Regions from separate parts of the Homo sapiens genome. Here region 2 is linked to region 1. Evidence: promoter capture Hi-C in 16 types of primary human blood cells and fetal thymus (Javierre and others, 2016). All regions are on one chromosome and are shown on one strand. The core of a region is centred on a gene start or on the middle of the fragment in contact, and the rest is flanking DNA. Distances in the headings are between cores, read along the strand shown. Region 1 holds the start of LAMB3 (laminin subunit beta 3). Region 2 has its middle 19 kb from the start of LINC01698.

What was found. The method cuts DNA at HindIII sites, captures the fragments that hold promoters and counts their contacts. A CHiCAGO score of 5 or more calls a contact.
Region 2: a fragment that was not itself captured here is called in contact with the fragment with the promoter of LAMB3 in region 1 in 1 of 17 cell types (monocytes); the score reaches 6.6 in monocytes.

The regions. Positions count from the first base shown.
Region 1 is chr1:209,651,175-209,656,412 of GRCh38, forward strand. It overlaps LAMB3 (laminin subunit beta 3), which reads right to left and starts at 1,251. Exons shown (of 23, transcript NM_000228.3): 1 at 1,195-1,251. RefSeq lists an enhancer at 753-1,952. The HindIII fragment of the contact is 2,819 bases long and covers 1-1,878 here.
Region 2 is chr1:209,388,784-209,393,996 of GRCh38, forward strand. No RefSeq gene overlaps it. Among named protein-coding and RNA genes, the nearest start is that of LINC01698, 19 kb to the left of the region's middle. The HindIII fragment of the contact is 3,065 bases long and covers 1,956-5,020 here.

The sequences.
Region 1 (5,238 bases), core at 1-2,500:
ATGTGACTCACAGGGTGCCCTGGGAAAATCCCATCCCTTCCCAGACTCCAGCTTCCTCCTCTAAAATGGATGGGAAGGAGTGTGGACCCTGCCCTACCCCACACAGCCGTAAGGACAACGTGGGGAGCAGGAAAAGGCTGGACCCTTTGCAGGAGAAAAGCTGTAGAAAGGGCCAAGACCTAGTTCCAGCCCCAAGAGAGAGGGCTGGCTTTTCTCAGGGCCTAGACCAGCAGCCTCAACCCAGCCCCGCCCAAAGTGAATGAGTCAGAGTGGCTGACGGCCTGGAGGCAAACCTTCTCCTGTCACGGGCATGGCCTCCAATACCATTCAGGGCCACTTTGAGTTTGAGGCTCTGTGCCCACAATTCTGGGATGCAACAGGGAGAGATGTATGGCTGTCTTTAACAAGTGAGTGAGGGTTTCTTCTGAAAGGGAAGCAACCCAAAATGTCTTCAATGATGGGCTGGGGCTCGACAAGAGGGGTGGGGCTGGGAGGCCACAAAGCAGGGATTCTGAAGGAGGCTGGGGAAGGATGCTCGAAAGCCACCGTGGGGTCCCAGAGGCAGGCCTGCCTTGTGGAAACATGCCCCACCCTTGCTCATGCAGTGACCCTTCTGCCTTGAATTGGATGTTCACTCTGTTCCAATGACAGCCACAAACTCTTTTGGCTGGGGTGGAGGGCTGGGGGCTTGGCAAGGCAGGGGCGGGGGGGGAAATTGAGGACATTTCTGGCATCTTTAAATTATAGATCCTAATGCTTCAAAATCATTCCTTCCAATCCCTCTCCTAAAAGAGTCATGGGCCCAGGGAGGGAACATGTGGCCTGGGGTCCCACAGCTAACGATGGCCTAAGAGAGACCCATCTTCTGACTTTCATCCAGTGCTTTCTCAGCTTTCCCACCCCTGACTGAAAATCCCCCTGCAAGTAGGCATTCTGAGCCAGGCCAGCCCACCCTTCTCACTTCTCTTTTGTGCTCAACCCCGGATCTGAACCTGCTTTCTTCTAAGCCACTGAGGTGCTTATCAAATGTGAAAAAGAAATCAAAACTGTAGCAGACATTTTAACCTAGCTCACCTGAGTGAGCTCCCAGGAAGAGGAATAAATCAGGCCCTGAAACCAGGCCCCAGGCATCCAGAGATACAGTCCTCCTCCCGCATCCGGCCCGCACCAGGCAGGTAAAGACAGGTAACATACCTTGCTGTGTGTTCTGCCGTTCTTTCTCCAGATCGCCTGAAAGCTCCTCTTGAATGTGGGGGTCTCCCCTCCCGGCTCCAGGTTTTTAAACAACAGCCTCACCTCTGGAGACTCCCTGGCTGGGTGTAGCCCCACCGCAGGGCGGGTCTCAGGAATCTGGCAGCCGTCACACCCATCTGTCGTCACTGCACCCCCACCTCCCAGGACGGGACTGGGCAAGTGGGTTGGTCGGTCCGTCCCAGAGTTCTTGTAGTGAGCTCCACAATGCCCACCTGCCTGTGGGGGCTGCAAGGGGCCCCTCAAACAGAAAGCACAAGGCACATGTAAGTGATCATCAGAGACCAGAATTCACAGGGTGGGGAAGGGCCCTTGCATTTGTGCCAGGCAATGAACTCAGCATTTTCCCAAAGCCAGCAGGGGTCAGCTTCTTCTTGTGACCTGGACCACCCCAGACAGAAGATCAGGCAGAGAACACAAAGATTAGGGCTTATATAGAGAGTTAAAGCTCCAGACATATCACCGGGCTGGAAGGTGAGAAGACTCAAACATCCAGGACCCTGGAAAGCACCATTCCCCTCCCCAGTGAAAAAAAAAATGAAAAATCCCAGCTTCTTGGGGCATTTGGAGGATCCTTAAAAGGCAAGGTTCATCAGGAAGGATTCAAAGCTCAACTCATCCAAGGAAAGCTTAAGAGAAATGAGCAGAGTAACTAAATGGCTCGCCTCCAGCTCCCTCCACAGGGTTGGCAGGGAGCCCTGGGACAGGTAGCTGCCTGTGAGTCACTCCTCCCACCTGTGGGGAGGGTTAGTCTCCTAGCCCCTCCCTCCCTAGGCAGGAATGCCCGCCTGGAGGGCCAGAAAACAGACCTGACCACAAGTGGTGGAAGGAAAGGCTGAAGCATAGCTTGACTGACAAAGTCAAAACAGACTTTCCCTGGCCTCCTGCCAGGCCTGAGAACACAGCTTCTTTTGTGGGCTCCTTGCTCAGGGATCCTGGGCTTCCAGCCACTGTAAATGGAAGTGGCAGGTCCAAATTGAGAGGCTGGTCTCACAGGACACTCTTTCCCCCAGGTTAGGGTCAGAGAGCTTTTAGGGAAACCTGGAGGGTCAGCCAGTCCATATCTTGGCCCTGGAGAGCCTGCACTGGCACCGTTTTGGAATGCTAGGACCTCAAAGCTACTATTTAAAGGAGCTTCTTAACTACGATTCCACTTTGTTAGTGTCTCCTAAACAGAAAGTTCTCCACCATTGGAGGGTTATGTCCAAGAAATTGGCTTGAAGACCCTTAAGGGGGAAATGTAGAATTTTGTGGATTAAATTGGGCATTTCTAACCCTCAGATTCGAATTAAGCATAAGTTCAGGTAGGCAGAAGAAATAGTGTAATTAGCAAGTGGGCAGTGAGTTGTTGATGTAAGTTGATGCATAATTGATAGTCCAATAAATGTTAGAGTCTTGCCCCCTGTAAGCATTCCAGTGAAATCTAGCTCAACTCAGCAAGTAAGGTCAGTAGAAGCAGTGTCCCTTCAACACAGAGAGACCTCCCTCAAGTCCCCCACCGAGAAAGGTCAGCTCTGACTCTGACACACCTGTGTTTTCAGTTCTCCCACCTGGTGGTCTCTTTCTCTCCACTTCCCCAACTCCCTGAACTCAGAGCGCTCATGAAACTTTCGCCCTCTGCCCATCACCAGAGGATGTGACAAAGAACTCATTAATAATTAACTCAGCAGAAGAGAGCAGGTGTTGCAATCCCAGATCCTCAGAGGAGAAAAGGCAGGGCAGGTGTGCGGTGGGCCTCACCATGAGTAGCTGGGGCCCCTTAAATCCTCCTCCTCCTCCCTTTATCTGAGGCCATGAGCCCAGGTAAATACACATTCGGTGTCTCAGACTTCACAGGCTTGGGCAGGTCCTGGAGTGGTTTGGCTTCGCAGGAGGGACATGCCAATTGCTGTGCTTGGCTCTCCCCTACACTCCCGGCAAAGTCCAGGAAGCTGTTTATGCAGACCCCCAAGAGCAGCCCAGCCAGCCTCACTCCTGAGGGACACTGATCATTTCCAAGTGGGGATCCAGTCCCCCAAGAACTCCAGGGCTCCAGGCACAAGCTCTGGAGCTTCAGAACCCAATTTGTTCAGTCAAGTAGCCTAAAATAGAGCCTGAGGCCAGATCAGGGTCCAGCTAAGATTAAAGGGGTGTGGTACTGTGGCTGGAGCCCCTCAGCCTCCCCTGTGTGCACACCTTTCCTCTCTCCCTGCGCCCATCCTCCTACAACAGAGCACTTATCTGCCCTAGAGCCTTGACTTATTAGAATGTGTGCTCAGGAAAGTGGCTAGTGAAGTCATCCCAGACTTCAGTATCTTTCAAACCTCATCACTCCATCAGCAAATTCGGTCAGCTCTGCCTTCCAATAATAATCAGAATCTACTTCTTCCCTCCTGGCCTGAGCCTCTTTTCCTGGGACGTCTGCAACAGCCTCCTCACTGATATACAGTCAAGTCCCAACACAGCAGGTTATGCACCCCGAGCTCAGAATCTTCACATGCCCCTATCCCACTCAGGGCCAAGGCCAGAGCTTTTTCAGAGTCTAGGGGACCCTACACCACCTTCCTCCCATTACTCTTCACCTCTACTACAATGGCCTCTATCCCTGTCTTAGCTCAGGCTTAGGGCTTTGGCTCCAGCTGCTTCTGCTGCCTGGAACGGTCTTGCCCCTGGATATCTACAAAGCTAACTCTCTGACCTCTTTCAAAGTCTTTGTTCAGATCCTAACTTCTCAATGAGGCCTATCCTAAACACACTATTAAAATTACAGCCAACTTCCCTGCCCCATCCCTGTCCCCCATCCTAACACTCCTAACCCCACCTACCCTATATTTTGGTGAGTTATTTATTTACTTATTTGGTAGGGGGGCATCATGTACCAGCTTCTAACCAACTATATAATTTATCTGCTTATGTTTATTTTCTGTCTCTTCCCAACTAGAATGTAATATCCAAGAAGGCAGAGATTTCTATCTTATTCACTACTGTTTTCCAAGTGCCTGGCACATAGTAGGTGCTCAATACTTGTGGAATGAATGGATCCACACTAAAGTACAAACAATTGATACAGTTCAATGCATCCCCTGTGCCGTTGATGTGTAGTTGCATTCTCAGAGGGGACAATCCAGGCTTTGGGCACTGGGATGGATTACTAATAGTGGAAATTCCTGTATCAGCCAGAGTGCGGAGGTCTTTTTTGAGGCACCTATCTCCAATTACAGAAATGTCACCATATTGACAGAGGCAGTCTCCTTCTTTGCCTGCTTCTCAGTCATTCCTGGCAATGTCTCTGACAGGGTGTGGGGGTGGCATTATAAGCTACTGTGTCTATTATCCATCTGTCAGGCTCAAACCGTCCAAGTCGCTAGGGAGATCAGCCAAGATCTGATCAATCAGAGATCAAGGGATAGGGAACAAAGGAAGGAGAAAAGGAGGAAGAAAAGGAGAGAGAAGAGGTTCAGGGGGCATAGGAGAACCTGGTCCAGGCTGTGACTCTCAGGTGTTGGAGGAAGGGGCACCAGGTGACTCAAGCTCAGGCCACACCTGAATACAGTGAATCATGGCTGAGTCCTCGTCTGTGGGACAGGGTGGACTCCAGGAACGGCCCTGGGGATTTGCCATGTGACTAAAGCTTGCGTTGCCCTGCACTACAACACAACTGCTCAGCTGTCCAGACAACTGGTCACACTCTTCTCTGTGCCTCCCCAGGAACCAGGGAGAGAAAGTGGGCCTGGTGTGTTACGGAGGCACAGATAGGAGCCCAGCCTCAGGAGAGGGGAGGCTAAGCAGGACAGAAGTCGCCTGTCATGAGTGACTCTTCCATAGCCCTTCTCCTCTCCCCACCCTCACCTATCCAACCTGAATGTTTACCCAGTGGACAACTGTGCATGCAGCTTGAGCCCGAGGACTGGGAGCAATCAGGCAATCGGCCTAAAATCACTACAGCTGATATCTGCTGAGTGCTTGCTGTGCCCAGGCACTGTTCTGAGCCCTTTGCATGTATCCACT
Region 2 (5,213 bases), core at 2,238-4,737, 260 kb before region 1:
TATTCCTTCCTTCCTTTCTTCCTTTTTTTCTCTCTTTTCGTAAATGAGAAACACATGAGTGAATCATTTTTATAAGTTTTCCTGGGAATCCAGCATCTCTAGCCAGAATATTAATAACGTGGTTACTCTGATGATTTCTCCCATTGACCCTAAAAACCTAGACATTCTCTTTTATAGGTAGGTCTCTTCAAGTGAGGTCAGCTTCTCCAGATAATTTCTGGTGATTTATGCAGACACCTTGGGGAGGAAAAAAGGAAGCAGCACTGATCTGAGCCTCCTGGAAACTCAACAAGTGGCCTGACCCTTGAAGGGTTTCTTCACCGTGTCTGGTAAAGTTTCCAAATTCTGGAGATGTGGAAGCAGAGGCACATTACCAGAAGGCCAGGTAATAAGCATGTTGGCAAGTACTACTGCTGGCCCTGACCCACCATATCATACCACAGGACCATCCACACCCATCCCCTATCCCAAAACCACACATCCACACTCCCCACCACCACCTTAACACACACACACTGCTCATTTCCCTCTGGAGATATGCAGGGCTCTCCATGGTCAAATGACCCTAAATCCTCTGGTGAATCAGGTTGAATCAGAGCCCATGAGTCATCCAGAGCACATCTAACCCAGGGTTAATTTATTCAGCAATCATTAAGAAAGCAAGTTCCTACTGCCAGGTGCCGTCCTAGGCATGACAGGCTGATGTTTCTAGAACATATTTGACAGCCTTTCTCCCCAAGTCACACCATGAAGGAGAAACCATTTCAGTTAAGAATGGTGAGTCAAGAGCTTGGCATGGAGGTATTACCAAGGAAGAGATCTGTGTTGAGCCTGTGTGCAGATCCTTAGCATTTAATTTATTCTGCAAGGACACACAAGGTGGTAGGAAACCACTCCAGGGAACCCACCGAAGAGTCAAGCAAAGCAGAGCATGGGTGCAATCACAAGTCATAGTGTGGGGTGGAGAGGCAAGGATGGGGGAAGAGCAAAGAAAAGGAGGACTTCCCTCAGAAGACCTGCTACTTTTAAACTCAACCTTGGCCAAAGAACCAAGAAGCACTTTAGCAACTTCCCCATGCTCGTCTCCAAAATTTCCTAGGATCTGAGAGGTGGAGGAGAGGGAGCTCCTTACAGGGAAATGAACAGAGAGTGATGGTGGGGCCTAGTTTGGGTTAGGCAATGTGGGCTACTGTGAGGGTTTTAAAATATAAATATGCAGAACACAGAGGGCTTTTAGGGCAGTCAACTACTTTTATGATACTATAATGGTAGATACCTGTCATTATACTTTTGTCCAAACCCATAGACTGTACAATACCAAGAATTAACCCCAGTGTAAACTCTGAACGTTGAGTGATAAGGATGTGTCAGTGTAGGTTTATCAGTTGTAACAAATGGGCCCCTCTGTGGGGGATGTTGATAATGGGGAGGCCATGCATGTGTGAAGGCAGGGAGTAGAGGGGAAATCTCTATACTTTCCATTCAATTTAGCTGTGAATCCACAACTTTCCTAAAAACTAAACTATATTAAAATAAAAAATCTTAAATAAAAAAACCACATGTCTGCAAATTATATGACAATCCCCTTAGAGAGAGGGAAGGCCAGCTGGGCACAGTGGCTCATGCCTGTAATCCCAGCACTTTGGGAGGCTGAGGTGGGTAGATCATGAATTCAGGGGTTCGAGACCAGCCTGGCCAACGTGGTGAAACCCCATCTCTATTAAAAATACAAAACATTAGCCAGGCTTGGTGGTGCATGCCTGTAATCCCATCTACTCAGGACACTGAGGCAGGAGAATCACTTGAACCCAGGAGGTGGAGGTTGTAATGAGCTGAGATCACACCATTGCACTCCAGCCTGGGCAACAGAGTGAGACTTGGTCTCAAAAAAAAAAAAAAGAGAAAGAGACAGAGAGAGAGGGAAGGCCTATAGCATTTCCCCTTGTATCTGAGCAAGCTTCTAACTTACTTGTAATCAAAAGAATGTGGCAGAAGTAATGCTCCATGACTTCCAAAGCCAAATGGTAAAAGACCTTGCAGCCTCCATCTTGTTCTCTGGAACATTTGCACTTGGAGTTCTGAACCCCAAGCCACGGTGTAAGAAATTCAACTGCCCTGAAACCACAACTACAATGAAAGGAATCTCAGGTGTCTGGAGCAGCCATGTGTAAGAGTGCTGAAGGTCACAGCTGAGTCCTACCCCAGAGCCAGCATCACCTGACTGACTTGTGAATTAATCAACATTTCATGATCCCACTCTCCCACAGCCTTGAATTCCCCACAGCCTTTGAGTCTTCCTAGTTGAGGCTCAGATGTTGTGGAGCAGAGGTAAGCAGCCCCTGCCATGCCCTGTTCAAATTCCTGGCCCATGAAATCTGTGAGCCAAAAAAAAAAAAGTTATTTTTATGTTTTATGCTCCTAAGTAGATGCAAACTGTAGTGACTTGCAGGGCTTCCTTGATCCAATGATGAGGATTGGGGGTGTTGGAGGGTGACCTGTGTCAGAAAAAGGAGAAAGAGGAATGCACAGACCAGGCCATGCCACTATGGAAGACAAACAATGATCTGAACAGTGCTATTTGTACAGACGGTCCACAACTTATAATGGTTTGACTTACAATTTTTTGACTTTATAATGACACGTAAGCAACATGTGTTCAGTAGAAACCATACTTCAAATATCCGCCTACCATTCTGTTTTTCACTTTCAGTTCAGTATTCAATAAATTACATGAGATATTCAACACTTCGTTATAAAATGGGCTTTGCGTTAGATGATTTTGCCCAACTGCGGGCTATGTCCTTGTTTGTTGCACGAACATTGTTCAAGTATGTTTAAGATACGTTAGGCTAAGAGATGATGCTCAGCAGGTGAGGTGTATTAAATGCATTTTCAAACTATAATATTTTCAACATACCCCGTCATAAGTTGAGGAGAGTCTGTACTATTTGCTTTTTTGAGGTGAAAATGGAACCTCATGTAAACACATTTCACGAAGGATCCCTGGGCCTGGCCTCTGGCATCACAGCCTTGCAGTGGTCACTGGGGATGCACACAGCCTCTCTTGACTGCTACCCTAATCAACAGCAGACAGGAGCCTCCTCCTCTTCAGAGGCCCTTCCCGTGGTTGGAAGCCAAACAACTTCATAGTGGGACATCTGTCTATTTCGCATAGGCTCCTTGGAGAAATGCTGGTGGACAGGATTTGAAGACTTGCAGTCAGGAATTCATTCCTCCCAGCAGGGGATGGGGGCTCAACTCCTGGTGACTCAGACCCTGGCAGGGGCTTCTGCCACTTCTTGCTTGTTCCCTCACCACCTCCCAGGGGTTTTTTTAGGTGATGACAAAGATTGTGTCTCCCCAAAAGGTATCCCAAAAACTGCCCTGAGATCAAGTTTTTAAGTTGTCATCTTAAAAAGTTCTTTTAAGTTGTCATCTTAAAAGAGACCCTAGTCAGCCTGGGAGTGCTGGTTTACATTTAGCTTCAGGGAGTTCCTTGTTGCAGAGAGCTCTCTTTATTTACTCTTTGTCTTTCTGTTATTTCCACTACTTGGAAAAAAGACCCACCTTCTCACCCCTACCCTTCCCACCATACCTCTAAGAATATTTGACTTGTTTAAACAGCCACTCATTAGAACTCAAGTTCATTTTAAGAAAAGCCTTTGACATCCTCATTCTAGGAGGAGAGGGAGGATGCACTCGATAGGCTCAGTGGGCAGGTCACAGGTAGGGAGCATCCAGGACCTCTGGAGTCCTTGGGACAGGCATGGTTAGACTCCATACATTCAGTGGAGAAGTGGAGGGTGGGTCCGCATCTGCGGGGCTTACCCATTAACCTGTGTCTTGGTTTTCTGAACAGCTCCATTTTTTACAGGTCCACCTGTGTTGTCAGAGGCCTTGTTATCTACTTTGGTTCACTCTGATTTTAATTGCCTCCTCTAACTTGGTGGGTGAATCGGACCTGAACTTACAGACTATTTGAATCAGAAGAGCCCTTAGAAATCACCTAGATCAGCCTTCAGAAAGGAAAAGTGACCTGTCCATGGTCACACAGCAATAGTTCTTCAGTGTCAGAGCTAGGACTAGAAATAGGGCCCCTGGCTTCCAAACCAGGGCTCTGTATTGTGCTCTCAGACTCCCCAGATGGGCTGCTTACTGGAGAGGATGAAGGAATTCAGAGAACATGCTTGAGATCAACCAATCACAAGACTTCTGCTGCCTGAGGTCCTGTTTGCCAAAACCCCCACTCTTTCTTCCTCTTCCACAGCCCAATCCCAGCCACCTAAACCTCTAGAATATTTTGGAGCTGAGCACAAACAAGCTGCTAAGGCAGTGTTCTATTCTTTAGGCATTCTTGAAATTACAATTTCTGCTTATTTTAGAAATTAAGACTTTCCCACCCACCTCTCTTTCTCCTCTTTTTATTCTCCTCCCAACCCTGGCTCTAAATTCATGTCTGCTTTTCTGTTTCCCTGGCTCATAACATATTTCACATGGCCAAGCTGCCATAAAGAATATTTCCTACAAATGCAAACACTGTACTTGGACATACCAATGAAACTTAATTTCTGTCAATGTGCTGTTTGGGGAGTTTTTCAATAAACCATATTCCTTGAACACATTTTGGAACAAACTGAAATACCAAGAAAAGAAGAACATGGTTATTTGCAGACAATGGAGGGACCACTTCAACATAAATATTGTAATAGATGGACAGATTGTCCTATATTATAGCTCTCTGTGTAAGTATCTATTTTTTTCCCACTGGAATTGACTCCTCAAGGGTTTATATCATTTCTGTTTCAATTCCACATCCCTCACAACTCCAAAGTTCTTTTCATATATGAAGGCCTCTATACATGTTTATTAAATTTAATGTTTTTTAAATGTAGTGAGGGCATACTATGCAACGTAGGCAGAATGGTAGATGTTTTCATGGCTTTAAAAAAAGTTGATCCCTATGGCCATCCTGTATCAGTTATTTATTGCCTCAATAATGACATTTTATAAACCACCCAAAAGCTTAGTAGATTAAAACAATAACCTTCTATTTTTTTTTTTGTGGGTCTACATGTTGGCTGGCCAATTCTGCTGATCTGCATTGGGCTCAGCCAATCTTCATGAGGGGTGTTCATGCATCTGCGGTCAGCCGGAGGGCAGATGGGGGAAGTTGATCTAAGATGGCCTAACATAGAGCAGCTGGAATGATTGGG